7 separate regions of the Homo sapiens genome follow, and all the other regions are linked to region 4. The links are contacts of gene promoters, found by promoter capture Hi-C in blood cells and fetal thymus (Javierre and others, 2016). All regions are on one chromosome and are shown on one strand. Each heading gives the region's core, a stretch centred on a gene start or on the middle of the fragment in contact. The rest is flanking DNA. Distances are from core to core; before and after follow the strand shown.

Region 1 (3,473 bases), core at 403-2,902, 180 kb before region 4:
GGCAGGAGAATGGTGTGAACCTGGGAGGTGGAGCTTGCAGTAAGCCAAGATTGTGCCACTGCACTCCAGCCTGGGTGACAGAGCGAGACTCCATCTCAAAAAAAAAAAAAAAGAAAAGAAAAGAACCCCTCTAAAAATAATGGCCAGCAACATTTAATGAGCATTTATTATACGGGAAGTTCTTCCCACACATTTCATGTAACCATCACAGCAGCTGTTTATCACAACACATTTATCATTTATTGGCAGTTTTTTTCATCCCCTTTTAAAAATAAACACTCATTTTTCTTCCAACTTGCTAACATTTATTTTTGCTCCCCAGTTTTACAAAGTATAATTAATAACAAAGCTGTTGGGATTGTGTGACAAAGATACTTTATAGAAATATATATGATTTTTACATACTCACATGTACCACATAGGTTTGCCTTTGGAACCAGATATATCATCTAGATATTTGGGATGAAAAGGAAAAACAGGCAACCTAGAAGATTTGGGAGAAGGCCGCAGATAAGATCAACTAGGCTCTGGATTTTAAGCCTTGTTGTGGAACACTCCCTGATGTGGTTTTTGGTATTTTGCTTTTTTTGGGGTGGGGGGGAGCACTACAAATTCTTTTATTGCAATATAATTTACTAATAATAACATTAATCATTTTGAAGTGTAATCTGGTGGCATTTTGTACATTCGCAATGTTGTGAAACTGTCACCACTGCCTAAAATACCATCACATTTTCATCACTCCCAAAAGAAATCTTGAACCCATTAGTAGTGTTTCACAATGTCTCCCATCCCCTTCATTCCTTTTTTATGGCTGAACATTATTTCATTGTATGGATGTATAACGCCATATTATATTTATCCAGTGTGATGGTTAATTTTTAGTGTCAACTTGACTGGATTGGGGAATACCTAGAGAGCTGGTAAAGCATTATTTTTGTGTGTGTCTGTGAGAGTGTTTTCAGAGGAAATTGGTGTGTGAGTCTGAGTGGACTAGGTGGGGGAAGATCCACCCTCAACGTGGGTGGGATCCTCCAATCCCCTGGAGGCCAAGACAGAACAAAAACTGAGGTGCTCAGTATATGTTACTGCTTCCCCTTCATGAACTTGACATTTCTTGAGTGCTTACTGTGCACAAAACACTGTGCTAGGCCCTTTGGGGGCTACAAGAAGAAATGGAACATAGCCCTGCCCTTAAGAAGCTTGTATCCTGATGGATGGACTGGAAAGGGAGGGTTGGCGAGAGAGGGCATCGGGAGGGTAGAGTTTCCTGTGCCTGAGGGTGGTGAATGAGAGAGGGAAGGACCCGAATGTGAAGTAAAGAGGAAAAAGGTCTGTGAGAATCAGAGCACTGATGGAATTCAATGGAAAGATTAATCTGTGTGTGTGTTGGGGGTGGGGCTATGGGGAGCAGCTCATGGAGTGCCTTCCTTTCTTTACCCTTGTATTCCTCCCACAACTCTAGCAGAAAAATGGGTACAAAGATGCCTTAAAATGTTGGTTGTTTTTATAGACACTTCTGGTATGAGGTTAAAATATTCTGCAAATTGGGAGGTTTCCATCAATGGGACATAATATTCGTGGCCCTTTGATTCAGCAACTTTTTGAGTCCCTCCCAGTCTTTAGGGTGCCAGAGATTCAGAGATAAGACAAGAGTTTAGAGGACAAGGGTCAAATGAAAAGACCCAAAGCCTGGCAGGGTGGTGCACACCTGTAATCACAGCGACTGGAGAGGCTGAGGCAGGAGGATTGCTTGAGGCCAGGAGTTAAAGATCAACCAGGGGCAGCATAGTAAGACCCAGTCCCCCTGCCCCTGCCTTCCACCTCCACGGAAAACAAAACAAAACAAAACAAAACAAACAGACCTAGACAGTAGCATGTAGGACAGTAACAACCTTGGCAAAGGTAAACACTGTGGAGGAATGTGGCAGGTGATCAGTCATTCCTTCTGCAGACTGTTTTGGGGCTCACTCTGCTGAGCTCTGTCATACAGAGAGTAGCCACAGGGAGGGCCCTGCCCTGTAGAATCACCATAATCTAGAACACTGGTTCTCAAGGTGTGGGCCCTGGACCAGTAGTGTCAGCCTCACCTGGAAGCTTGTTAGAAAGGCAGATTCTCTGGCTCACCCCAGACTTACTCCATCAGAAGTTCTGGAGGTGATGTCCAGCAGTCATTTTCACAAGCCCTCCAGGTGGTTCTGATGCATGCTCAAGTGTGGTGAGCAGTGGGCTAGGACAGTTGTCAGGTCTGGATGCACATTAGAATCACACGCGGGGCTTTTAAAGCAACAGTGCCTAAACCACACCTAAGACTGACTAGATCAGAATCTGAAGGGAGACCCAGGCATCTATATTTTTGAAAGCTCTCCAGGTGATTCCATTGTATAGCCAAAGTTGAGAAGCGGTGGTCTCCACATGCTTAAACAGATCATCACAGTGCAACCAAGAGTGACCATTAAGGTGGGAAACAGTGCCTGTGAGTCCACAGAGCAGAGGATGCCTGGCAACCCCTTGAAGGGATCAGGATGGCTCCCCAGAGGAGGTGAGGACCCTTCATTGTATTTCCTATTGGATGAGCTCTTCATTCCTCCTTCCCTTTTTTTCTGGACATTGCAGTTGCACAAATCTGAGTGTGATCGGAAAGGTTATTTTAAAATTCATTTAATGTGATTAATTTTTCAAAGTTGAACACAGCTGGCTTCCCTTTAAAACTTTGTATTTTGATAGTGGTTCTTACCATGAATAATTGACTAATATCAGGTCATTAATATTCTATAGGAGAGTACTTCAAGCTAATAAAATTCATTTTAAAATTAGTTTTTAAAAATGTGTTCCTGCAGCCCAGGGATAGTAGGATCTCAGTCAAGTATGAGATTTTATGCTTTTCTGTTAACATAAGATAGTTGTTTGACTGCTCAGTATCCCTGTTTTATTCCAATTTTTTTGTAGGAATTAATTGCCCAGGAAAAGACCTCTGTTTCAGAGTTGCAAGTTTGCCTGGATGCTGTTGCCCTGGGAAACATTATTGCATCAACAGTGGGGAAGGGGTGGCTCTGACATGGGTGCTCTTTGTCCTTCTCCTGGGTAGGGCATCTCTGAGAGGGTATCCCCTTTAGGTCCTTCCCAGGGCTTCACATTTGGGCCAGATTTTTTTAAAAAATAATTAAACTTTTGTATTTTGAGGTCATTGTCAATCCACACGCAGCTATAAGAAATATTATAGGCTGGGTGCAGTGGCTAATGCCTGTAATCCCAACATTTTGGGAGGCTGAGGCAGGAGGACCACTTGAGGCCAGGAGTTCAAGATCAGCCTGGGCAACATAGTGAGACTGCATCTCTACAAATAAATAAATAAATAAATAAATAAATAAATAAATAAATAAGAAAAAAATTGCCGAGGCCAGGCGCGGTGGCTCATGCCTTTAATCCCAGCACTTTGGGAGGCCGAGGTGGGCAGATTACGAGGTCAGGAG
Region 2 (3,860 bases), core at 77-2,576, 230 kb before region 4:
CATGCGCCACCACACCTGGCCAATTTTTATATTTTTAGTATGGTTTCACCATGTTGGCTAGGCCGGTCTGGAACTCCTGACCTCAAGTGATCTACTCGCCTCCACCTCCCAAAGTGTTGGGATTACAGATGTAAGCTACTGCACTCAGCCATTTATTTATTCATTCATTTATTTATTTATTTAGAGACAGGATCTTGCTCTGTTGCCCAGGGTGAGTGCAGTGACGCCATATCACAGCTCACTACAGCATCAACCTCCCTGGCTCAAGTGATCCTCCTACCTCAGCCTCCCAAGTAGTGGGGACTACAGGTGCACCACCAAGCCCGAATGTTTTGTTTTTATTTTTTAGAGATGGGGGTCCCACAGTTTTGTCCAGGCTGGTCTCTAACACCTGGATGCAAGTGCTTCTCCCACCTTGGCTTCCCAAAGTGCTGATATTACAGGTGTAAGACACTATGCCCGGCCAAAAACCTCTTTTTTGAGACAGGGTTTTGCTCTTGTTGCCCAGGCTGGGGTGCAATGGCGCGATCTTGGCTCACCGCAACCTCGGCCTCCTGGGTTCAAGTGATTCTCCTGCCTCAGCCTCCTGAGTAGCTGTGATTACAGGCATGCGCCAGCACACCCGGCTAATTTTGTATCTTTAGTAGAGATGGGGTTTCCCCATATTGGTCAGGCTGGTCTCAACTCCCGACCACAGGTGATCTGGCCGCCTCAGCCTCTCAAAGTGCTGGGACTACAGGGGTGAGCCACTGCGCCCGGCCATGCTATAGATTTTTATAGGAAGTTAGTGTAGTGGGAAAAGCACGGAAAACTCGAAAGTCATTTTTTTTAAAAGCTTAAATAGAAATTACACTATTGGATATTCTGTCATAATGTCGAAAATGTCAATTTTCTCCAAATTAACCTCTGACTTCAATATAATTACATTTAGTATTACAGCAGGCCTTGGTGGGAGATTGCAAAAACATCCTAAAATATATTCATGTGGAAATACTGAATTTCAAAGAATTCTAGAAACACTGCTAAGAGGGAATTCAACAAATAAATTGCACCCTAAGCCATAGTAGTGAATAATAGATGCAGTAACAGGAAGATCAGAATAGATAGCTCAGAAGCTATCTCACCTACTATGGAAATTAGGTACTTGATTTTTTAAAAAGTGGCTTCAAAAATTACTGGGGAAAGGATAGGTAAGCAGGTAGTGCTGACCAAACTACACTTCGGAGAGAAAAGTGGATTTGGCTCTTTACCTCACCCTATACAGAAAAATTGCTTAAGAGTAAAGCATTTTTTACTTTTTTTTTTTTTTTTTTTTTTTTTTACGTTTTTTACTATAAGCATGAGGGCAATGGGGAGTATCTTGGGACTAGGGAAGTTCGTATTAAGACTTCTTAAAATGCAAACCATAAGGTGAAAAATTTATGGATTTTATCACTTCGTAATCATTATGAGATCAGATCAAGCAAGAACCATCAATGGATGCTAAATCTAGAGAGAATTTTTGACGAAGAGTAAGTACCTGCATAGCCTTAAGGTGCCTCACCACAGTGCATTTTGCAAGAGGAAAACTACCTCTAAGGTGGAGGAACAGCCAATGGAGAGAAAATTACTGTATCCATGTGAAACTTAAGTTGGTAGTCAACTCTAGTATGTGTAACAGAACATTCATAATCTTAGGAAATACACATGGAAGTATTTGTAATGTAACTTTCAAAAACAGTTGATAAAAAATAGGGCAATATTGTAAATGGAGTAAACATGTTAATAGGATTTTGTCATAAAAATTAAGGAAAATTTTACCAATCTTAAAAAGCTTAGTTGGCTAGGATAAAATATTTGCAACATTTAAACCAGAAATTATCTAGAATACAAGAAACTCCTGGAAATCAACCAGAGTAGCCCAGTGGAAAGGTGGGCAAGGATTGAACAGGGAATTTACAGAAGGGTAAACCAGATAGAATGGCTAATCATTTTGTGTAGATTGAGAACAATGCCAAGAGAGGAAAAACAAATAGAATGATAGCTTTTATGCAGTGTCATTTATATACAATTAAAATACATGCGTATCTTCAAAACAGTATTTCAAAATTGCAGCTGCAAAGATATCAGAGGAGGTGTTTATAATTAGGGAGAGGAATGGAAAGTAAAAGGACCCCAAAAATAGAATAAAAGTAGAGAGGGATGCTACACACACATGTCCATGAGCTCAAGAGTTGGATGAATTGAACTCACCAAAGGTCCCTAAGATAAGGGAGGAGAAAGTGACAGCTCCCACGCTCTTAATTTGGCTTAATCTCAATGTGTTCGAGTTTTCATTACAGCTCAGGGTACCAGCCCCCACCTGCTCACTTTCCTACTCATTTATGTTTAAACTTCCTGGCTTTCTCACCACACTTGAACCCTACTCCCGGCACACCTTTGGGCGTGTCAGGAACACGTTCATCACAAACATTTTTTGTGCCACAAAGGGACTTTCCCAGCTTTGGCCAAGAGTACAGGTGCCCATTCCTGAGAGTTTCAGCTTCACATTAAAAAAAAAAAAATGAGACATAATTAAGGGACCATAAAATTCACCCGCTTAAAATGTACAATTCAATAGTTTTTAGTATACTTAGTTGTGCACTCATCATAATCCTAGAATATTTTCATCCAAAAAAGAAAACCTGTACCCATTATTCAGCTTCATTTTTAATCGTGTATATCTCCCCCCAGGAGTGGTAATAAAACTTTCAGGCTGGTCACCTTCCAACGAGAAAAAACATGCAGCCTGGGGCTCCATGGGAACGGGTTATCACTTGGCAGGCCTGGGTAAACAAAAGGCTTGAGCCGGCCCTGCCAAGATGTCTTTTTCAATGTTTTTGAAAAGATAATAAATGTGCATGGCAGTGGTAAAAGTGCCTACTTAGGAGGCAACCCGTTTAGCAGTTTCTTGTGTGTCTTCTCGGAGAGATCCTCCTCAGAGGTTTTTTGTTTTATTTTGCTTTTGAGACAAGGTCTCTGTCGCCCAGGCTGGAGTGCAGTGGCGTGATCACTGCAGTCTCGACCTCCCGGGCTCAAGCGATCTTCCCGCCTCAGCCTCCCAAGTAGCTGGGACCACAGATGAGTCGCCATGCCCAGCTAATTTTTAAAATTTTTTTGTAGAGACGGGGGTCTCGAACTCCTTAGCTCAATCAATCCGCCCGCGTCAGCCTCCCGAAGTGTTGGGATTACAGGCGGGAGCCACCACACCCGGCATCGCGGAGGTTTCAGTCAGCATTATTTACGCCTCAGGAGAAGAGGAACCAAATTGGCTGCGGAGTAGGGTGTCGTTGAAAGGCCTAGGTCGGCCTACGGCGCGTGCCGCTGCCTCTTAGTTGAAGATCGACCCCAATAGCTTGCTGCTGTCCCTCTCTGGGTGACCGCACGCTGAGGGTGGGGCGTCACTAAACACTGATTACCCGTGCGCCTCGAAAACTGGAACCTAACTATGCATGGAGGGCGGGTCCTCTGGCGTCTGCACAGATGTCACTGGCCCAACTGGCACCCACCTGGGGGCCTAGCCAGAAATTGTTCCCAAGGCTGCATTGCTGAGTTTGCATGCAGACACCCAGTGAGTGTAAGCGTGTGCGTGCTGAGTGAGCACGTGTGTGCGCGTTATGTGCTCTGTGTTCACACATTGAGTGAGGATGTGTGTGCACGGTGTCTGAGAAACTGCACCCTACATCTACACACGCTTTGAGTGTGTATCTGCTACTGTGAGAAGATGCATTTACGCTGGGTGTGCACGTTGTGTGTGCATGTTGCATGTAAGCATCGTATGAAGAACTGTGTGCGTACGCACGCCTTCTGTGTGTGCACTGTGTACAGCAGCGTGTAAGGAC
Region 3 (3,615 bases), core at 925-3,424, 190 kb after region 4:
AAGAGAAAGTTGATTAGATTTGAATCATCAGCATGCAAAACAGGCTGCAATCATATAAAAGTAGCATATTTGCAAGTTTAAAGGTATTTATAATAGATTTGCATAGCTGTGGGATTTATCAAATATTTCAGTGCTTACACTCTGAGAGAAACTGTGTTTATTGAGATTTGGGGATTGATTGAACAGAACCTGTCCCTTGAAACATGCTCAGTCTAGTGAGGGAGGGCAAGATATACACAGCTAAGGTAACTATCAACCCAAGATGTTACCAGAGTGGCAAATGATGGCATTGACGAACGAGAGAGGAATTTAAAAATAGGAGTAGTCACAGAGGGTGAAGAAGATGCTTTGTAGAATAGGTGAGGTTTCAACTGAAGATGCAGATGGTGAGTGGTATTTGTGTTAGGTGCTGGAGGAAGGAGGACATGGTGTTAGTAGAGCCTTGCTCTGCATTAGGGGAGGACCTGTGAAACTTTGGGACCTCCCCTAATGCAGACCTCCCCTAATACTTTAGGTGTAGAGTATAGAAAGCAGGTGCTGGTGGATGCAATGAAATGGGGTTGAGATCAAAGTTATAGTGCTGGCCACACTGAACTTTCAAAGGAGCGCCTGTTTAAAGATTCCTAATCTGGAGGTTTCCCAGGTGAACATATCCCCATAACCATTTTCTCACCTGGAAATAGCAATGGGAGAAAACTTGAGGATCTTGATTCATCAGAAAGGTTATCTTGCTGGCTTGTGTTACCATTTGTTCATATTTTTTAATTGGAATGATAGAAAGACCTTAGTATTGGACTCACTTAGGAATTTGGGGACCTGTGGCTGTTTTTGAAGGACAGGATTATCAAGCACTGCTGAAGGAAGTTTCCGAAAGCTCTACCAGAAACCCTTTCCACTCTGATGAAAAATCATGGATGTTGCTCTGTCTTGTTGGGCAGTTGGCCTAAGTCTTAAATAGAAATTGTATATGTTTTCTTAAATGACTTCCCTTCCAATTACTCTACAGATTTCTCTTCGAGGGCCGCCTCTCATGTAGAATAGCCTTGTTCTCAGAAGAGTGAGGGGAGGGAATGAAAATCAGCTTCCCTATGTGAATGGAATGTTCTGGCCCAGCCAGAAAGAGGTAATCATACAATGAACTACACAAGAATTAGGGGAAAATATTGGTCCAGCCATTTAGGACCTAGATAATGCTTGTTTATATTTGGCATAGCCAGCTTTCCCACATCCTCTGAGATTGAAAATAGTGTAGGTGTTTATGCCTTCAGGAAATGCCCCCCTTAAAGATATATTTTTTTTTCACCAGTTCTACTGATAGAAAAACATGTTTACCAGAAATAATTTGTATTATTTTCAGCGATATTTAAAAAGTTAAATTATGTCTCAGCACATTTATATGAAGTTCTAGAAGAAGTAAAATGAATCAAAGGTGATAGAAATCAGATTAATGATTGCTTGGAGGTGGATTGACTAGGAAGGGGCACAGGGAACTTTCTGGAGTGATGGAAATGCTTTTTATGTTAATAGAGGTGTTGGCTACAATGGGCGTTTGTCAAAACTAATCAGCTTGTATTGTTAAGTTCTGCATTTATGTAAATTATACTTCAATTTTAAAAAAGCTTTAAAAGCTGTCTTAACATTTTTTTAGCGTTTTAAAAATTCTCAAAACACCTTTCCCAAGTAAGAGAAAGGAACAGTATTACAATTTTCATTTAGTTACTCCTGAAAAAAAAATTTGAGGAAAATTTTAGCAGCTTTAAGGTGTGGGCCTTTCCTTAGACTTTGATGTGTCACTTTTCTTTTATGGGAAGAATGGTAAAACAACTCTTGAAACAATGAAGCTGACTTCGTTTGTCTGGGTGCATCCCCCTAACCCCAGGCTTCCCTCAAACCCACCCCTCCAGTGTGCTTCTGACTGGGGTTTGGGTATCAAAGTATTCACTGGATGAAAAAAAGCTATAGTCATCCTTAGATGAACTTTTTCTGTCTTGCTACTTGTGCCCTTGGGTAGACTGTAGACCTGATAAAGCCTCCATACCCCTTCTCAGTCCAGTTGACAGGTAAAACTTCAGGGGTGATAAATAGGAACTGGCCTGAATAGCCAAGCACTCACAGGGAGCACGCCATCTTTTCAGTCACAGACTTCCTCTTTAGTGCCTTACAAATGGGGTGCAAGAAGGGGTGGGGATGGGAGTATTGAAGTTCACCCAGGTGTTTGCCCAATCTCCAACAGGGTTAAGATTTAAAAACTACTTCCTTGGACCCTGAACCCACTTAGATGCTGTTGATTGTAAAGACATGAAAATTGCAAGGCCCTCAGATAGAAACTGTTGAAGTGGTTTTATTCCATCGTTCTCAAACGCTACCAGGTGTAAGCTGCTCTGCTCCCAGCTCTGGGCCAAAGGTGAGATTCACTCTTGGGGCACGGTGAAATTGTATCTTAGCACATTTATGTGAAGTTCTAGAAGAGGCAAAACTAATCAAAGGGCTCCAGAGCTGACTGGGTTGGTCGTAGAGGGACACAGGTGGGATTTGTTCTCAGCCTAGAGCCAAGGCCTGCAGAAGACTGTTTATGAGTGGGGAACGGCATCTGCCCCCTTTTATTATTGTCCTTTCCTTGGGGTGGAAGTTATAAGCCCTTGGTGTGGTATTCGTAATCCCTACTTTGTTACAAAGAGACGCATTTCTTTCTTTTCTTAACTATAGAAATGCAAACATAAGCAAGCTTGATTTCCAAGCAGGGGCTGTTCAGGCTCTGTAACTGCCTCTCTCTTGTTGGAAACTTCTCAAGGATGGAGTCTTTATCTGTTTTGTTCAGCAGTGAATCTGTCCCCAGGTACTGGGGCAGTGCAAGATAGGTGCTTACTAAATATTGGTGGAATTGGGAGGACCACACAGTCCTGGGTGTGGCAGTACCTAGTTAAGAACAGTGGCAAATATAGTTAGGATCTCTCAGTTCCTTTTGCTCCTCACAGGAAGGAAACCTTTTTCTGTGGGGGAAATCAGGGCTCTTTAGGCCCCCATGGAGGATTTTTCCCAATAATGTCTCTGCCATTCATTCATTCATTCATTCATTCATTCATTCAATGTGTGAGGCACTGTGCTTTACTCTTAGAATGAGTGAATGAATGAATGAATGAAATCACATGGCAGTGTCCGTGTCCTCGTCTTTACACAGGAAGTTGAACTAGAATATCTCTGAAGAGGGATAGTGTGAGGTATCATTTTTCTCTTATCTCCAGCCTCAGTCTCGAGACCAAAACAGCTGGCCTGGCTATAGAAGGAAATAGTACTGAACGACTCTCACTGGTACTGGGGCCACCCCCACCACCCCCATGAAGGGCTCCAGCTCACAGAAAAATGAGCATCGTGCCCATGGTGCACCTGTGATGGGAAGTGTGTCCCCAGGCGATGAGCAGTGGTTTTATTGTCTGCCCCTCCACTTACTGCGTGGTTAATGATAGGCCTCTGCCATTTTCCCATAGGCCACTCTTCTCAGACTGTGCTGTGACAGTGATACTGGCATCTGAGGGTGTGGTGAGGTGAAGATACGTCTGTTTTCCCAGCAGACAGCCTGCTTTTCCTACACATCAGGAAGGCTTCCCTCAGGGATCT
Region 4 (3,822 bases), core at 1,223-3,722:
AGGCTCTTTGAGAGAGGGTTAGGATGACCCACTGATACGGCCTTACCAAAGAGAACCACCTCTGGAATTGAGCAGACCCCCATACCAGTTCTTCTGGGGTTGGGGGAAAAAAAATGTCCCAGTAGCAGAGGGTTTATCCAGGCTCTGTGAGTTTCAGTGTTTGTCAACTCTAAGATGGTATCAGAAGGCTTGATTGCCCTGATTAGAACATGATATAACAAGACATGTAATGAGTGAGGCACCAGGGTGCCTGGAGGAGGAATATTTGAGTATTCATCATCCCTGCCTTCAACATTTCACATTCTTTTTTTTTTTTTTTTTTTTTGAGACGGAGTTTTTCGCTCTGTCGTCCAGGCTGGAGTATAGTGGCGCCATCTAGGCTCACTGCAACCTCCACCTCCCAGGTTCAAACAATTCTTGTGCCTCAGCCTCCCACGGAGTTAGGACTAAGGCATGCACCACCACGCCTGGCTAATTTTTGTATTTTTAGTAGAGAGAGGGGCTCGCCATGTTGGTCAGCCTGGTCTTGAACTCCTGACCTCAGGTGATCCGCCCACCTCGGCCTCTCAAGGTGCTGGGTTTACAGGCGTGAGCCACCGTGCCTGGCCCACTTCACATTCTTTTCTTTTCTTTTTTTCTGAGACGGAGTCTCGCTCTGTCGCCCAGTCTGGAGTGCAGTGGCACGATCTTGGCTCACTGCAAGCTCCACCTCCCGGGTTCACACCATTCTCTTGCCTCAGCCTCCGGAGTAGCTGGGACTACAGGCGCCCGTCACAACACCCAGCTAATTTTTTGTATTTTTTAGTAGAGACCGGGTTTCACCATGTTAGCCAGGATGGTCTCGATCTCCTGACCTCGTGATCCGCCCGCCTCGGCCTCCCAAAGTGCTGGGATTACAGGCGTGAGCCACCGCGCCCGGCCTTCACATTCTTAATCTCCGTGTTCTCTGATCCCTTTTTTAGGAGTCTGATATTGATGACACTAGGACTTCAATTGCAGCCTCTGTGTGGATGGGCCTCTTGTCCCTTGATTAGTCTCCTATTTCGATCGGTTTGACACACATGAACGGTATTTAGAAAGATGATGCTACTGATCTCTTGTTTGTAAGACCCTGACTTTGAGGTTTTTTGAAAAACTCATGAAACAGTTATAAGAACAATTTTCTACAGAAATCCCAGGACGGTAACCAATTTACAAGAGTTGCCCCGCCAACACAGGTGAGGTATGGAGACAGCCCCTCTCTTGGGTAGGGGGTCGGCTTTCATTTGTCCCTTTTGAGTCCACTAGCCCTCAGCCTCCTCCATTTCCAGGGGCCACTGATGTAATTTCTCTATTGTCTTACGTGCTCTTTGCCTAAATGTCTCCCATGTAGTTCACTATCGCTTCCTACCACCAGATGGTGGAAAGGGAAAAGGAAATAACGGGCCGGTAGAGGAATGTGGTGGCAGGCAGAGTATCTATGGCGAAAGGTGTGGTGGTGAATGGACCCAAAACGGAGCTTCTGAATTGCCCACGAATGCCCACGGATTCCCTGTTAACATTTTAGCGCCCACTCAAGGGTCGGCCGTCCAGGTCTGGGAGTCAGTAAGGCACAATAATGCCTGCTAGGGAGGGAGCCAGCCCTCATCTCAGCGGATTCCTGGGAACGTCAGAGCTCGGGAACATTCCTGAACACCCGAACCGCACCTGGCCCAGGCACTGGGGCGGGGCTTAGGCGGGTCCCAGCGAGGCGATGCGTCCCCTCGGCCCCGCTGCGTCCTTCGCCCGTTTTTCCCCACGTCAGTGCCACCGCCTCCTCTGTGCGGAACTCGCACCTGGCCTGCCTGCGTTCCCACGCCCCACCGAAGGGACGCCGCGTTTCTCTCCCTTCCAAGGGACCCTTTTCCTTCCCCTCCAACAGCCCCCCGGGAAAACTCATTCCAGATTGCCTCGATGCCCCAGGGCCACCTGCCATCACCCTGGTCAGGCGTTTGGCCCCGGGCCTGCCCTGGTCTCCATCCCCAGCCCGTCCTCCACCTCTTGTCGCCCCCTCCCGCTCAGCCCCCTTCTCCTCCTTCTCCACGTGCCCCTGCACTCCCACGCCCCTCCCCCAAGAAGCCCCTCTCCTCCGGTCTCGAGGAGTCTCGCGGCACTTCCCGGGGCGTCAGCCCAGCCGCTGCGGGTGGGTGGCAGCCGCGCGGAGAGGGGTGCCTCTGGCGCGGGCGGTGAGGAGGGCGCCCAAGCCCCTCAGCCGCAGGGACGCCCCCGGCGCCTGCCCCGACGCGGCCCCGGCCCCGGCCCCGCCCCTCTCCGGCCCCGCCCCCGCCCGGCGGCCGCGCGTCCCCGGCAGGCGGAGCTGCAGGAGCCTCGCGGCAGCGCTGAGGAGGAGGGGAGAGCGGGCGGCGCGGCCGCGGCTGCCGGGCGCTGGGCTGGGCGGCGCTGTTTTTTTTTTTTTTTTTTTTTTTTTTTTTTTTTTTTTTTTTTTTTTTTTCGCAATTTCCACTCGCGGGGAGCAGGAAACCCGGCGCAGCCGGGCGCATTGGGCCGCGATGCAACAGCAGCAGCAGGAGTCGCCCCGGGGCAGCAGCGGCAGCAGCAGCAGAGGCAGCAGCGGGCGGCGCTGAGCCGCCGCCGCCGCCACTGAGGAAGAAGCCGGCCCAGCCGCCGCCGCGTCCGGACCCTCGCGCCTGGATCCCAGCGCCCCGATCCCGGCGCCCCAACCCCCACGCCCGCCTCCGCCAACTTTCACGCTGCCTCGGCGGCCCGGCCCGGCTCGACGCCAATGGGTGAGTGGGGGCCGCCCGCGTCCGGGCGTCCACTTCAGCCTTGAGGGCGGCGCGCCAGTCCCAGAACCGCGGAGCCCGGGAGGGCGCCCCGGGGGCAGGGTCCGGACGGGGGACACCGCGGTGGGCGCCCTCGCCTGCCTCGCGCACCCCCATTCACTCCCACTTGCGCCCGTGTGCCCGCCGAGCCCGCGCGCGGCGCCGACGGGAACCCGCGGGGGCCTGAGCAGACGATCACGGGGGCTGGCCCCGGGCGGCTCGGGCTGAGGGATGCAGGGGGTGTGGTTGGTTTTTCGGGTGGGCGGGGAGAGTTTTGTCTTGGCCATTTTTGCACCCGAGCGCGCCCTCCTCTGCGCTGCGGACACGGGCACCCGGACCTGGTGGGCTCCGGCCCTGCGCGGGGCTGCTGGTGTCTTCCTGGTCCTGTCTCGGGGGAAGCTGGAACCTCGGGGTCTTGGAGGGGGCTGGGTTGCCTTTGCTGGGGGTTGACAGGGGTTGGGGGGTGGGGCGGGAAACGCCCCAGTTCCTGGTCTGGCTCGCAGTCCCGGGGTCCAGAGCACCTGACGCTCCTCTCCTTGCGCCCCCCTTCCTCCCGGCCCCGACCCTTTCGCTGCTGCCTTCCTCCAGCCTGGCGAGCTCTCTGCTCCGTGATGCTAAAAGGCCACTTCCCATACTGTCCTTTAAGTCTTCAGGGTCTGGGACCTGGAAATGGTGATCCGGTCTTTGATTTACTGAGTAAACATCAGTTCGAAGTAGCCAACTAACCTTTGAACCCCCTGGGTCCCATTTGATTTAGACCCCGGAGCATTGGAACCACCTTGCTGCCCAGAGAAGCTGCCACTTTATTGGCAAGGCACTTATGATTACTTGGGCTATTAAATGTTTGGTCTACCCAGGTAATGTTCTTGCTGACAGCCAGCTTCTGTTTTTCAGCCTCTGGCAGATTATTTTTGGATGTTCCTAGGCCAGGCATAGGAAGGCTGCAGATAATAATAAATCATAATAAAGTGAGACCTTTCTGTGTTCAGGTAATAGGATTCCAGTACACTAGTCAGGATGT
Region 5 (4,008 bases), core at 132-2,631, 240 kb after region 4:
ATCTTATCCTCTTTCTGTGATTTATTCATATTTAATGTTGGGTTCAACGTTTGAAGCATGAATAACTTTTTCAAATTAAAAACTGTGGTGAATCAGTTTTTTTTGAAGAAAAATTCTACCATGCCAGTTTTTGAATTATGCAGTTCATTCCTCTTCATGTGTTCAAGGGCCAGAGATGTTTGATTTTCCCAGTGGCTGGAATTCTCACTGGCAAAACCCTTCATTGTTGCAGGAGAGGTTGATTTCCCCAGCTACGTGGTCGTGACAGCTGTTGCCCTGGTATCAATAGACATTTTCCCTCAGGCATCAATCATGATCACACACGTGTGGTAGCAAAGGGGAAGAGTGGGAACAGACCTCGCCTTGGGAACCAATGGATCTGTATATTTCTTTCTATTTTTGAGCTGCTGAGTTGCCTGTGTTTTTAGGAACATCTTTAGGCAGAGATAAGATCCAGTCTTCTCTATGGACAGTTCATAAATAATGTTAATAGAATTAGCCGCAAATGAAGGAAAGGAAATGAACTCAAAACAAACTCATAATCTTTCTTTTTTTGAACTAGTCAGTGGAAGCATAGGGTCTGAGGCGCTGGATTTTTTCTAAGCCCTTGGAGGCTTAAAAGACTATAAGGAAAAGAGCTGCTTGGTGGACTCATTTTTGCCTTTGTGGCAGGCAGGTAGATCTGTTTAGAGGACATGAGAGTATCTCCCCTTTCTCTGGGAGGCAGGTGGAATTCTAGATGGCTAGACAGAGATGCAATAGGGTACACTGTCCTGGACATCCTGACTTCTGCCTGCCCATCCACCTGCCTGCCCGTCCTGCCCTCCTGGGCCTCCATTCCTGTATCCCTTCCTTTTGATTTCTTCCCTCCTACTTCCATTTTTCCAGCCTGCAGTGACTTTTGAGCATCTCCGTTGGGCCAGCTATTGTACCTCCATAGACTGAGTCAGCTTCTCATAAACTGAGGGGAACTATGCCTGTTTTCTTTGCTAAAAATAGTCAACCTTTTATAAGAGTATAAAGGAAGAAAGAGAATAAACGCTACTAAGTGCCTACAAGGATAAAGCCCTTTTTACCTATTTTTCTCCCTTGTTTGTCATTGAGGATGAAACCTATTAAAGGGGGGCAGCCAGTATACAGAGCAGGGCATAAACCAAAGAATGTGGCTTTTTAAACCAATTTCGAGCATTTTGTCATTATGATCTGGATCTTATTCCTTTGCTTAATGGAGACAATCATCTTGATAAGTAAAATCATCTGTTTTTCCCCTCAGACTATTGGGAAGAAGTTACCTGCAACTACAGCAACTCCAGACTCATCAAAAACAGAAATGGACAGCAGGACAAAGAGTGAGTTTCCTTAGTTATCTGTTTCACATTTAAAAGCATTTAAGGATTTCCCAATAACAGAAATGTTTTTTAGAAATCCCTATATAACCTTGATAGCTTTTGCAAACGCATCAGAAAAATGTACACAATTGTATTTCATTCAATTCCCCACCATTAGGGTGGGCACAGGTTAGATTCAGAACTCCTGTTTTTGTTTTTTTCTTTCCCCTTATTACAGAACGTGGTTCTCTCCTGCTATATGTATCTCACTCGTATGAAGAGCTAGGGTTTATCCATATATAACAAGCACTTTGCACAGTTAAGGTGGCTGAAAGATTTTAGAGAGTGGCAAATTAAGCGCTTTAGGGATTCACGAGCCCTCAGGTCGGAGAGGCCTAACCACTTGAACTTGACCAATTTTACTTACCCTTGACTTCCCACTGGTATCTTCAACACATCTCTGCTTGAATATCTCCAGATACCACTGCATGTCTGCAGGCAGGAGGCTCAAGTCTTTTTGGAAGGATTAGGCTAATGAATGGGAGGGGTTAACTGTGTTTTAGAACAGTGCTAGCCAATAGAAATATCATGTGTGAGCCACATATGTAATTCTAAATTTTCTAGTAGCCATGTTTAAAAAAAAAGGAAAAACAATTGGACTTAATTTTAATGTATTTTTATTTAACTCAATATATCCAAATATTATCGCCACATGTTATCTACGTAAAATTATTAAATGAGATACTTTCATTGCTCTCTTCATGTGAAGTCTTCACAATCCCATATGTATTTCATAGGCATAGTATACCTCAATTTGGAGTAGCTACATTTCAAGCACTCAATAGTCATGTGTGCCTAGTGGCAACCATATTGGAAAGTGTAGTTTTATTTTTTAAAATATTTTCTTTTTAAAACAATGTTGTGGGTACATAGTAAGTGTATATATTTATGGGGTACATGAGATGTTTTGATACAGGCATGCAATGTGAAATAAGCACATCATGGAGAATGGGGTATCTATCCCCTCAAGCATTTATCCATTGAGTTACAAACAATCCAGTTACACTCTTTATTTTAAAATGTACAATTAAGTTATTATTGACCATAGTCACTCTCTTGTGCTATCAAATACTAGGTCTCATTCATTCTTACTATTTTTTGTACCCATTAACCATCCCTCCTACCCCCCAGCCCCCAACTACCCTTCCCAGCCTCTGGTAACTGTCTGCCTACTCCCTGTGGACAGTATAGTTTTAGAGTAATTCTGGGGTCCAAGAGGGGCTTCCTGGGCTTGAAAATGAACACAGTTCCAAATGCTCAGCTTGCCTAAGCATGTGGGAGAATCCTGGCTCCAGCCCAAGCCTTGTTCAGTCCTAAAAGCGTCTATTAACTACATCCACATACCTGGCCCTCTAGGAACAGCATGGTGGGGGATGGGTTACTCAAAAGAGTGGGTTTATAGGAAGCCCATATTCTAGGACCAGCTCTGTTATTAGCTAGCCATGTGAACTTGGGCAAGTCATTTTATTCCTTTGGCCTTCCTCTTCATCATCTGCATTGTCTGTGAAGTCAGAGGGTTATACTAGAGATAAACCCCAGGGTTTATCCCAGCATCTTCATCCTCTCATTCAGTTCTAAAAGCTTTACAATTCAGAGGGGAAGGTTTCTGCATTCAAAAATTAAACAGCTGATGGAAGAGCCAAAAGGAAGATGTGAACAATTCAGTAGGAATATGAGAAAGGTGTCTTTGGGTATAGATGTTAATATGCCTGTAAATGGTAGCAGGTCAGGAAAGGGAATTATTACTGTCATCAAAGGCTTGAGGGATGTTTATTGACAGACATTTTTCATAGACACCAGGATAAGAATTTCTACAGTTGGGCTGGGCACAGTGGTTCACAGCTGTCGTCCTAGCACTTTAGGAGGCTGAGTGAGGCAAGTGGATCACTTGAGCCCAGGAGTTTGAGACCAGCTTCTTGGAAGGCTGACATGGGAGGATTACCCCAGGAGGTTGAAGCAGCAGTGATTGAGCCAAGGTCATACCATTGCACTCCAGCAGGGTGGCAGAGTGAGACCCTGTCTCAAAAAAAAAAAAAAATAAAAAAAAAAAAAATAAAAAATTCTTCAGTTTCAGCCCACACACACTGTCTCCAGTTGTCAAGAGCAAATTCTGGGGTAATTGTTCTTCCATGATTTCCATTTAGTGCCACCCCAGACCCCTAAGAAGCCCCCTAAAAAGCCCCTTTCATTTGGACCATTTCCCTGCTTCGGGATTTTGATACGACACCTATGTTTAGGTAACAGGCCACAGAGTAACTGAACAACTACATATTAGAAATGACCCTGAGCTTGGGATCTGAGCAACCTCCTTCCCTCTTCCTTCTGGCCAGAAGACAAACTATAACAAAAATTGCCCAGCAGTGCAGAAGAGGGCAGCTCCTTCCTGCGTAGATGTCTGTCTCCTTAGCATGCTAAAATACTAGCTCACATCAGGGTTAAGAGTTGTGATGATTTTAAAAATGTTGATATGAGTTGGTATTTTCTGAGTGAAAGTGAAACTCAGCTGATCAGGATTTAGTTAAACAACATTATCATCCCCACCCTCTCAAAAAAAAAAGCTTTTATGATATTGAAATTCATCAGAAACTCATGCTGGGGAACAGATTGACATAATTTTCAT
Region 6 (3,485 bases), core at 29-2,528, 200 kb before region 4:
CCTCTCTAAATTATAATATAAGCCACCACCCTTTTTTCCGTCTCTGTTCCATTTTTGTCTTTTCCCCTTCCCTCCCTCCCCTCTTCTGATATTAGCAGGTTAGCTCTAAATTCTCCTTAATTAGCTCCCAAACCGGATGAATTGGTGGATGTGGCACAACTGCAGGAATTCATCCAACAAACCAGGGATGGACAAATAGTGTGTTTGAGCCCTCGAACACCCTTCCAAGTCATCTGCCTTCATTCTGTCACTATGAGGCCAGCCTTCTTTTCACTGGCTGGGAGGCTGTGGGAACTGCGAGCTAGGCCAGCAAGAGAGAACTGGGTGGAAGCTGGTCTCAGATTGATCAGTCACACAGCCTGGGGAGCAATGAACTGAGATTTCAGTGTGTGGCCCATGTGAGTGAGTACTGGGACAGAAATCAAATGCTTGCCTTACAAATGTAGTGTCCAGATGTATAAATTCAGCCACTGGATCCTCCTATCAACAGAAACATTTAATAGTCAAATTACAGTTTCAAAATCAGTTTACAAATTACAGTCTGAAAATATCAGTATTTAACTTGAGAAGCACTGTTACTCGTACCTGGTACAGAGTCAGAACTCAGTGAAACTTCCCCTTTGCCCTCTGAAGTTTTGCTGAAAAGTGAACTCACAAAAGACAGATTAATTAGAGAAAAGGCATACACATTTTATTCACGTTTATACAGGGAGAACCATGAGTGACTACCTACCTCCAACAGGGTTCAGAGGCTTTATATACCATCCTGGCAAAATAAGTTATAAGACGGGGGAAGAAGAGGAATTCTGTTGAGAGGATCACTAGGGAGAATAAGTGGACAAGATAACTTGTATACTATCTTGTGAACGGGTCTTTCAGGTGTGGTTACATTCCTGGTCTTACAAGGAGGGGAAGAAAAAAATAAATGTTCCTTTTGGTGGGTCTGGACTTTAGGCACATAAAGGAACTTCAACTTCGTCCTGCTTTGGGAGAGACATTGGTAGGGGGAGGAGGGGGAAGGTCAGAGAGACCTTGAGGCTTCTTCAGTTCAGTACGTCAAAGTGCCATATTTTGGGATATCTGCTTCTGAGCCCCAACACTGTTATTAAGAGGCCATATTTTATTGTAAGCCTACTGTATACAAGGCACAGGTTAGGTTTTGTGAAAAATAAGCCAAAGCTTCTTGAATGGAATTCAAGCCCTATTTATGTTATAATGTGCAGGAGTTTAGCAGGTTAACACTGGGGAAGCAGAGACTTGGTAGCATCCACATTTTGCTTGTTTCTTTAGAACCATATATTTTATTAAATAAATTTTTATAAAACAATGTGTTAACTGTAGATACCCTCAACACAGGAAAGGTTTGGTTAAGCTTAGATTCTTGCTGGGAATTGTAGATATTATAATTTCTTGTGGATAATTTAAAAAATTTATCATTTACTATTGGCCACTGGTAGCTTTATTCAAGGCAAACCATCTTGCTCAAAACAAATAACCTTGACCAAAAAGGTAGCCAGGATCCTATTTAGTCTATCTACAGATTGTTTTTGGTTAAAAAGACATCAGTGTTTGTTCCATGCCATATATGTATCTCCTGTTTCATTACATCTCCGTATTGCTGGGAATGAAACGAGTACCAGCAGGCCCTTGCTGTGGAATTTTCTGAGCGAGGTCAGAGAGAAGCACAGTGTACTTTTAGAACAAGATCTGTCCTGCCTTTTTTTGTATTCTGGAGTACACTTGGGGAGAAATAGAGTAAGCTGCTGTTTGGGGAAGAAGTTTGGGCTTTTGATTTATTTTGAAGGAGTTTAAGAAATGCTACCACCATGCCTGGCTAATTTTTGTATTTTTAGTTGAGAAGAGATTTCACCATGTTGGCCAGGCTGGTCTTGAACTTATGACCTCAGGTGATCCACCCATCTCGGCCTCCCAAAGTGCTGGGATTACAGGCGTGAGCCACCACACCCAGCCAATACTAGTTTTTTTTATTGCTAAAGAGTGTTCTGGGCCGGGCACGGTGGCTCACTCCTACAATCCCAGCACTTTGGGAGGCAGAGACAGGTGGATCACCTGAAGTCAGGAGTTTGAGACCAGCCTGGCCAACATGGTGAAACCCCATCTCTAGTAAAAATACAAAAATTAGCTGGGCATGGTGGTGGCCGCCTGTAATCCCAGCTACTCTGGAGGCTGAGGCAGGAGAATCGCTTGAACCTGGGAGGTGGAGGTTGTAGTGAGCTGAGATCGCGCCACTGCACTCCAGCCTGGGCAACAAGAGCAAGACTCCATTTCCAAAAAAAAAAAAAAAAGAGTGTTCCACTCACAGTGAATATACCACAGTGTTTTTGCTCCATTGCTGTTTTATCCATTCTTTCTTTCTTTTTTTTTTGTCTAAGATGAGGTCTCACTCTGTCACCCAGACTGGAGTGCCGTGGCTCTACCTGGGCTCATTGTAATCTTCGCCTCCCAGGCTCAAGCAGTCCCACCTCAGCCTTCTGAGTAGCTGGGACCATAGTCACGTGCCACCATGCCTGGCTAAGTTTTATCCATTCTCTTGCTGATGGATAGTTGGACTATTTCCGGCTTTGAGCAATAATGGATAAAGATGCTGTGAACATGCATGTGCAAACCACCTTGTGGTCCTGTGTTTGCTTTATTTCTCTTGGGTAAATCCCTCAGGGCGGGATTGCTGGGTCATATGTATGTTTTAACTGTGGAAAGAACTGCCAAATCTTTTCCCAAGTGGTTGTATTCTTTTACACCCTCACCTGAAGTGTATGAAAGTTCTAACTGCTTTGCACCTTTGCCAGTACTTGCTATAGTCAATTTTTTTGTGGGATTTAAATTTTTTTTGCCATTCCAGTATGTGTATAATGGTATGGGTTTCTCATTGGTTTTACCTTGCATTTCCCTGATGATTAAAGATGTTCAATATTTTTTCATGTGTTGATTACCATGTGAAGTGTTTGTTCACATTTTTTTTTTTTTTTTTTTTTTTGAGACAGAGTCTCACTCTGTCGCCCAGGCTGGAGTGCAGACAGGGTTTCGCTATGTTGGCCAGGCTGGTCTCGAACTCCTGACCTCGTGATTTGCTTGCCTTGGCCTCCCAAAAGTTCTGGAATTACATGCGTGAGCCACCATGCCCGGCCGGATTCGGCAACTAATTTGTACATCTTAAAGCTCCTACAAGTTTATGACACATTATTATATGGCAGAAATAGACTAAAAATAACTTTCTGTGCAAAAATAGTTCTGGAAGTCGTGTCACAGGGCTCTTGGCCCAGCAGGGAGCCACTTTTAACTAGAGCTAAAAGCCAGCATTGTAAATAGCATAGAATTGACTGTAAAGAGGCAAAAGGGAATGTTTTGGGATGATGGAAGTGTTCTAAAACTTGATTATGGGGGTAGCTGCAAGGCTATATAAATTCACAGTGGTCACTTAAAATGGGTGAACTTTACAGTATGTAAGTTACACCTCAAGAAAACTA
Region 7 (3,441 bases), core at 12-2,511, 170 kb after region 4:
GAATTCTTTGACACTTTCTAAATCTCCGAGCACAGTGGCCATTTTTGGTACTGATTTTAAAAACTGGGAAACCCTAGATTTGTTTATGGTGTGTATCTCCCACCCCCACAACCCACACACACATACCTCCCAGTAATTCTCTAAGATTAGGCAAGACAGAAGTATCCCAGATGAAGGTCTTTAGGATTTTCTAGACCTTTGTTACAGTTCTTCAAATGTTTGTGTCTTTTTTTCTCCTCTCCTACCCCTCATTCCCTCATCTTTTCCCCCTCCCTGCCCATTCTACCTTTAACTGTAAAAGTTAGGTGTCTGATATATTCATTTGTCAGCAGCAAAGTTTGAGAATGCCTTTAAAAATAGATATGTTAGAGGGAGTATGTTGGATAGAAAGGAGAAATCTTGTTTATGCTCAATAAATAACTTACATTTAGAACCTTCCTTCAATTTTTCCTTTGAAATTCTGTATTCTCATTTCACTTGAATGACTCTGCATGGAGCGTTTAAAAGTAGATCAAACAAAACCCTATAAATATGTTGAGTTCTTTTGGGCATTTTGCCAAAATTAGCCTTGCAGGGAAAAGCAGTGTGCTTTACGTATTGGATTTTCTCCTCTGAAAATCCAGACTCCCTCTCCTCTGGAGAGCTAGCTGCCAGGGCTGGGGGAAAGTCAAGCCAGGGACACATTAGGGAAGTGTCCCTGGTATGGCCTGCTGAGGTTGGGTTATTTGGATTGAGGGTTGTGCTGAAAGGCCAAAACCAATGCCTGGGACCAGCCTGAAGAAAGATGAAAAGCAGAGGGACGTTTAGAGACGTCACTGATTTTATGTTATGACGTGATTCCTTTATCTCACTCTGATTGGAAGGGAAGGCTGGTGAAAAAAACATTAACAGAGCTGTCTTTTAACAGATTCCTGAATGTAAAGCCAAATGGAAAAAAGGGAGAGAGTCAGGTGGAAGTAAGCCCCTTGGAAAGTAGGTCTGTCTCCATCATCCCAATTTTATACGTGAGAAAACCGAGGCAGAGAGCCACGCAGGGGTTGCAATGCTGGGTGAGTTGGGCCGTTTGTCTCTTCTGTATTGTTAACTCAGGGTTCTCTATTATTATTATTATTATTGTTATTATTATTATTATTATTATTATTATTAGTTAGAGGTGGGGTCTCACTATGTTGCCCAAGCTGGTCTTGAACTCCTGGGCTCAAGTGATCCTCCTGCCTCAGCCTCCCAAAGTGCTAGGATTACAGGTGTGAGCCACCATGCCTGGCCCCAGGGTTCTCTTTTATGTGCTTTAATGCTTTAAGTGAAGACCACGTATCCATGAGCAGTGAAATCAGAGCCCCTGCACCCTTTCACATGGCTAATTCACATATCATTTTTATAAGATATAGTTGAGGTGGAGGATGTTGAGTTCTTCATGCTCATGGCACCAAAATTACAGATGTGGCTTCTAAAGAAATATCAGATGACAATGTTAATGTTAAAATATACATATACAGCTCCTCTTTGCAGAAACTCAGTTTATTCAATGGATGGCCCCTTTGACTATTACGTTGGAAGTAGAAACTTGATTTGGGGGGGTCAGATGTTAATTGCCCAAATTTAAGACAGTTTTCAGTGACTTCTTTAAATGAGGCATTAGACTCTGAAGTTCATAGGGCTGAGGAGGGCCTGGATCGGGGATTTTCTAGATATATGGCACCTGGGGTCCACATAGGGATCTAGAGTGGTGCAGTGGCATCGCCCTAACCATCATGAGGCAGATGTGAGTGAGTCGAATTGGTTGATACAGATGTGCGTGAAAGAGCTGAGAGGTGTCAGGGTTGAAAAGATGGAGACAGACAGCAACCGACACTCACAGATAACAAAAACACAATGGAAGGAGGACAGTGCTAGAGAAAAGCAATGGTTGTTAGGAGAACCCAGAGAAGGGGCCCCCACGGCTGAATGAATGAGTATGTATGTGTGTGTGTATGTATGTGTTCCCATGAGTGAGGGGCGAGCTCGGAAGATGGACACCACAGGGCCCCTCCACCTAGTGAGAGATGGCTGTCTGGGCTGTGTAGGCTGGTGGTGTCTGGCCAGGGAAGATAACCTTGGCTTGGTCACTGATGGAATAGTATGGGCCTCCTCAGGGTTCTGTAACAGCATCTGATCAGAATAATGACTAATGTGGGCTACAGATGTGGAGCCCTGTCTCTGAGCTCACACCTCCTGCTGTGTTCGTAGACCAGCCACAACCAGTTGTCATTGGGAGGTCCGAGGCCCCTTGTCATTCAGCCCCATGAAAAGCACCTTTCTTGCTGATTGAATTGATATTTATTTCTTTCAAAACACCAACTCACTTTACCATTAATGTAATCAAAGTGTGATCAGAAAGGTAAGTTTCATAATGCAAGGTAATTATTTTAATAGGTGACTGTGATGTTTTTAAAAAGTGATTACAGTATATTACGTGCTCTTTGTGAAGACAAATTGATATTGTAGAAGCATTTAAATGAGTTTCTACCCTTCCCCCAATCTGCCTCCCCTGAAGTATCACTGTTACTTTGGGGTATAGCCTTCCATACCATTTTCTGTGCTTACACAAGTGTGTCCGTGTACATATACCCCCTTTCTCTCATTCATTTGTATCTTTTTTTGAGACAGTCTCTTACTCTGTTGCCCTCATTCATTTAATTGTATTAGACCTTCATAAATTAGTTGAATGTTGAATGGATTCATTTATTTATTAATGAACATTTGTTGAATGTATACTCTGTGCTAGGTTCCGAGTTATCAGGAGTAACTAAAATGCTACATGCTGCTTAGAGTTATGAGTGTGTGTGTGTGTGTGTGTGTGTGTGTGTGTGTGTGTGTATTTATAAAATTGGGATCATAGTATACATATTACGTGATTTAGTCTTTTAGTGTACTATGGACACCTTTTCACACTGATACACGTAGAGCTACTTGTTATATTTAATGGCTGCTGGATATACCTTCCCCTCCCAGTAGACATCCAGGTTTCACATGTAGATCTCTGTGCATATATGCATTTGCTATTAGAAACAATGCTGCCCTGAACCTTCTTATACATATATCTTTGCCTACTTAAACCAAATGTTTTCTGTCTTTTAAGGGGACCGAATATAAAATCAAACATACGTCATTTCTTGTTCATATATAGCCCTGCTCTACGGTTTAGTAAAGTTAATTCACAGGGGGCCATACGTTTGTAAGAGGAAAGCAGTTAGAGGCATAGATTAGCATTATTTAGTATTACAGATGCTTCAGACTACAAAGTTGATGGAGAATGAGTTGGTCAATTAATTGACCAACTTCGACACACCAACAAGACTGCAGGGTCTACCATCTTTCCATCCCTATAGCATCAACAATTCCAGATGGCATTGACTTTTGTTTGTTTGGTATATATATATTTTTGTTTTGAGACAGAGTCTC

What was found. The method cuts DNA at HindIII sites, captures the fragments that hold promoters and counts their contacts. A CHiCAGO score of 5 or more calls a contact.
Region 1: a contact is called between a fragment that was not itself captured here and the fragment with the promoter of SH3KBP1 in region 4, in 9 of 17 cell types (total B cells, naive B cells, total CD8 T cells and 6 more). The highest score is 8.3, in total B cells.
Region 2: a fragment that was not itself captured here is called in contact with the fragment with the promoter of SH3KBP1 in region 4 in 13 of 17 cell types (activated CD4 T cells, total CD8 T cells, naive CD8 T cells and 10 more); the score reaches 8.5 in activated CD4 T cells.
Region 3: a fragment that was not itself captured here is called in contact with the fragment with the promoter of SH3KBP1 in region 4 in 16 of 17 cell types (activated CD4 T cells, total CD8 T cells, non-activated CD4 T cells and 13 more); the score reaches 21.5 in activated CD4 T cells.
Region 5: a fragment that was not itself captured here is called in contact with the fragment with the promoter of SH3KBP1 in region 4 in 13 of 17 cell types (activated CD4 T cells, naive CD8 T cells, total CD8 T cells and 10 more); the score reaches 12.1 in activated CD4 T cells.
Region 6: a contact is called between a fragment that was not itself captured here and the fragment with the promoter of SH3KBP1 in region 4, in 4 of 17 cell types (total B cells, megakaryocytes, non-activated CD4 T cells and 1 more). The highest score is 6.1, in total B cells.
Region 7: a contact is called between a fragment that was not itself captured here and the fragment with the promoter of SH3KBP1 in region 4, in 14 of 17 cell types (activated CD4 T cells, naive CD8 T cells, total CD8 T cells and 11 more). The highest score is 15.9, in activated CD4 T cells.

What each region holds. Positions count from the first base shown.
Region 1 is chrX:20,070,172-20,073,644 of GRCh38, reverse strand. All of the region lies in intron 1 of MAP7D2 (MAP7 domain containing 2), which reads left to right. Among named protein-coding and RNA genes, the nearest start is that of MAP7D2, 45 kb to the left of the region's middle. The HindIII fragment of the contact is 895 bases long and covers 1,205-2,099 here.
Region 2 is chrX:20,117,184-20,121,043 of GRCh38, reverse strand. No RefSeq gene overlaps it. Among named protein-coding and RNA genes, the nearest start is that of MAP7D2, 2.2 kb to the right of the region's middle. The HindIII fragment of the contact is 978 bases long and covers 838-1,815 here.
Region 3 is chrX:19,698,355-19,701,969 of GRCh38, reverse strand. The region is part of intron 4 of SH3KBP1 (SH3 domain containing kinase binding protein 1); the gene reads left to right. Among named protein-coding and RNA genes, the nearest start is that of MAP3K15, 180 kb to the right of the region's middle. The HindIII fragment of the contact is 1,106 bases long and covers 1,622-2,727 here.
Region 4 is chrX:19,886,250-19,890,071 of GRCh38, reverse strand. SH3KBP1 (SH3 domain containing kinase binding protein 1) reads left to right here and starts at 2,472. Exons shown (of 18, transcript NM_031892.3): 1 at 2,472-2,765. The coding sequence starts at 2,762. RefSeq lists silencers at 2,021-2,320, 2,381-2,450, 2,931-3,070. The HindIII fragment of the contact is 9,463 bases long and covers 1-3,822 here.
Region 5 is chrX:19,642,741-19,646,748 of GRCh38, reverse strand. SH3KBP1 (SH3 domain containing kinase binding protein 1) reads left to right here. Exons shown (of 18, transcript NM_031892.3): 7 at 1,274-1,349. It overlaps LOC124905255 (a long non-coding RNA gene), which reads right to left. Exons shown (of 2, transcript XR_007068406.1): 2 at 1,989-4,008. Among named protein-coding and RNA genes, the nearest start is that of MAP3K15, 130 kb to the right of the region's middle. The HindIII fragment of the contact is 3,181 bases long and covers 1-2,971 here.
Region 6 is chrX:20,089,874-20,093,358 of GRCh38, reverse strand. All of the region lies in intron 1 of MAP7D2 (MAP7 domain containing 2), which reads left to right. Among named protein-coding and RNA genes, the nearest start is that of MAP7D2, 25 kb to the left of the region's middle. The HindIII fragment of the contact is 193 bases long and covers 1,182-1,374 here.
Region 7 is chrX:19,717,555-19,720,995 of GRCh38, reverse strand. All of the region lies in intron 3 of SH3KBP1 (SH3 domain containing kinase binding protein 1), which reads left to right. Among named protein-coding and RNA genes, the nearest start is that of SH3KBP1, 170 kb to the left of the region's middle. The HindIII fragment of the contact is 4,751 bases long and covers 1-3,441 here.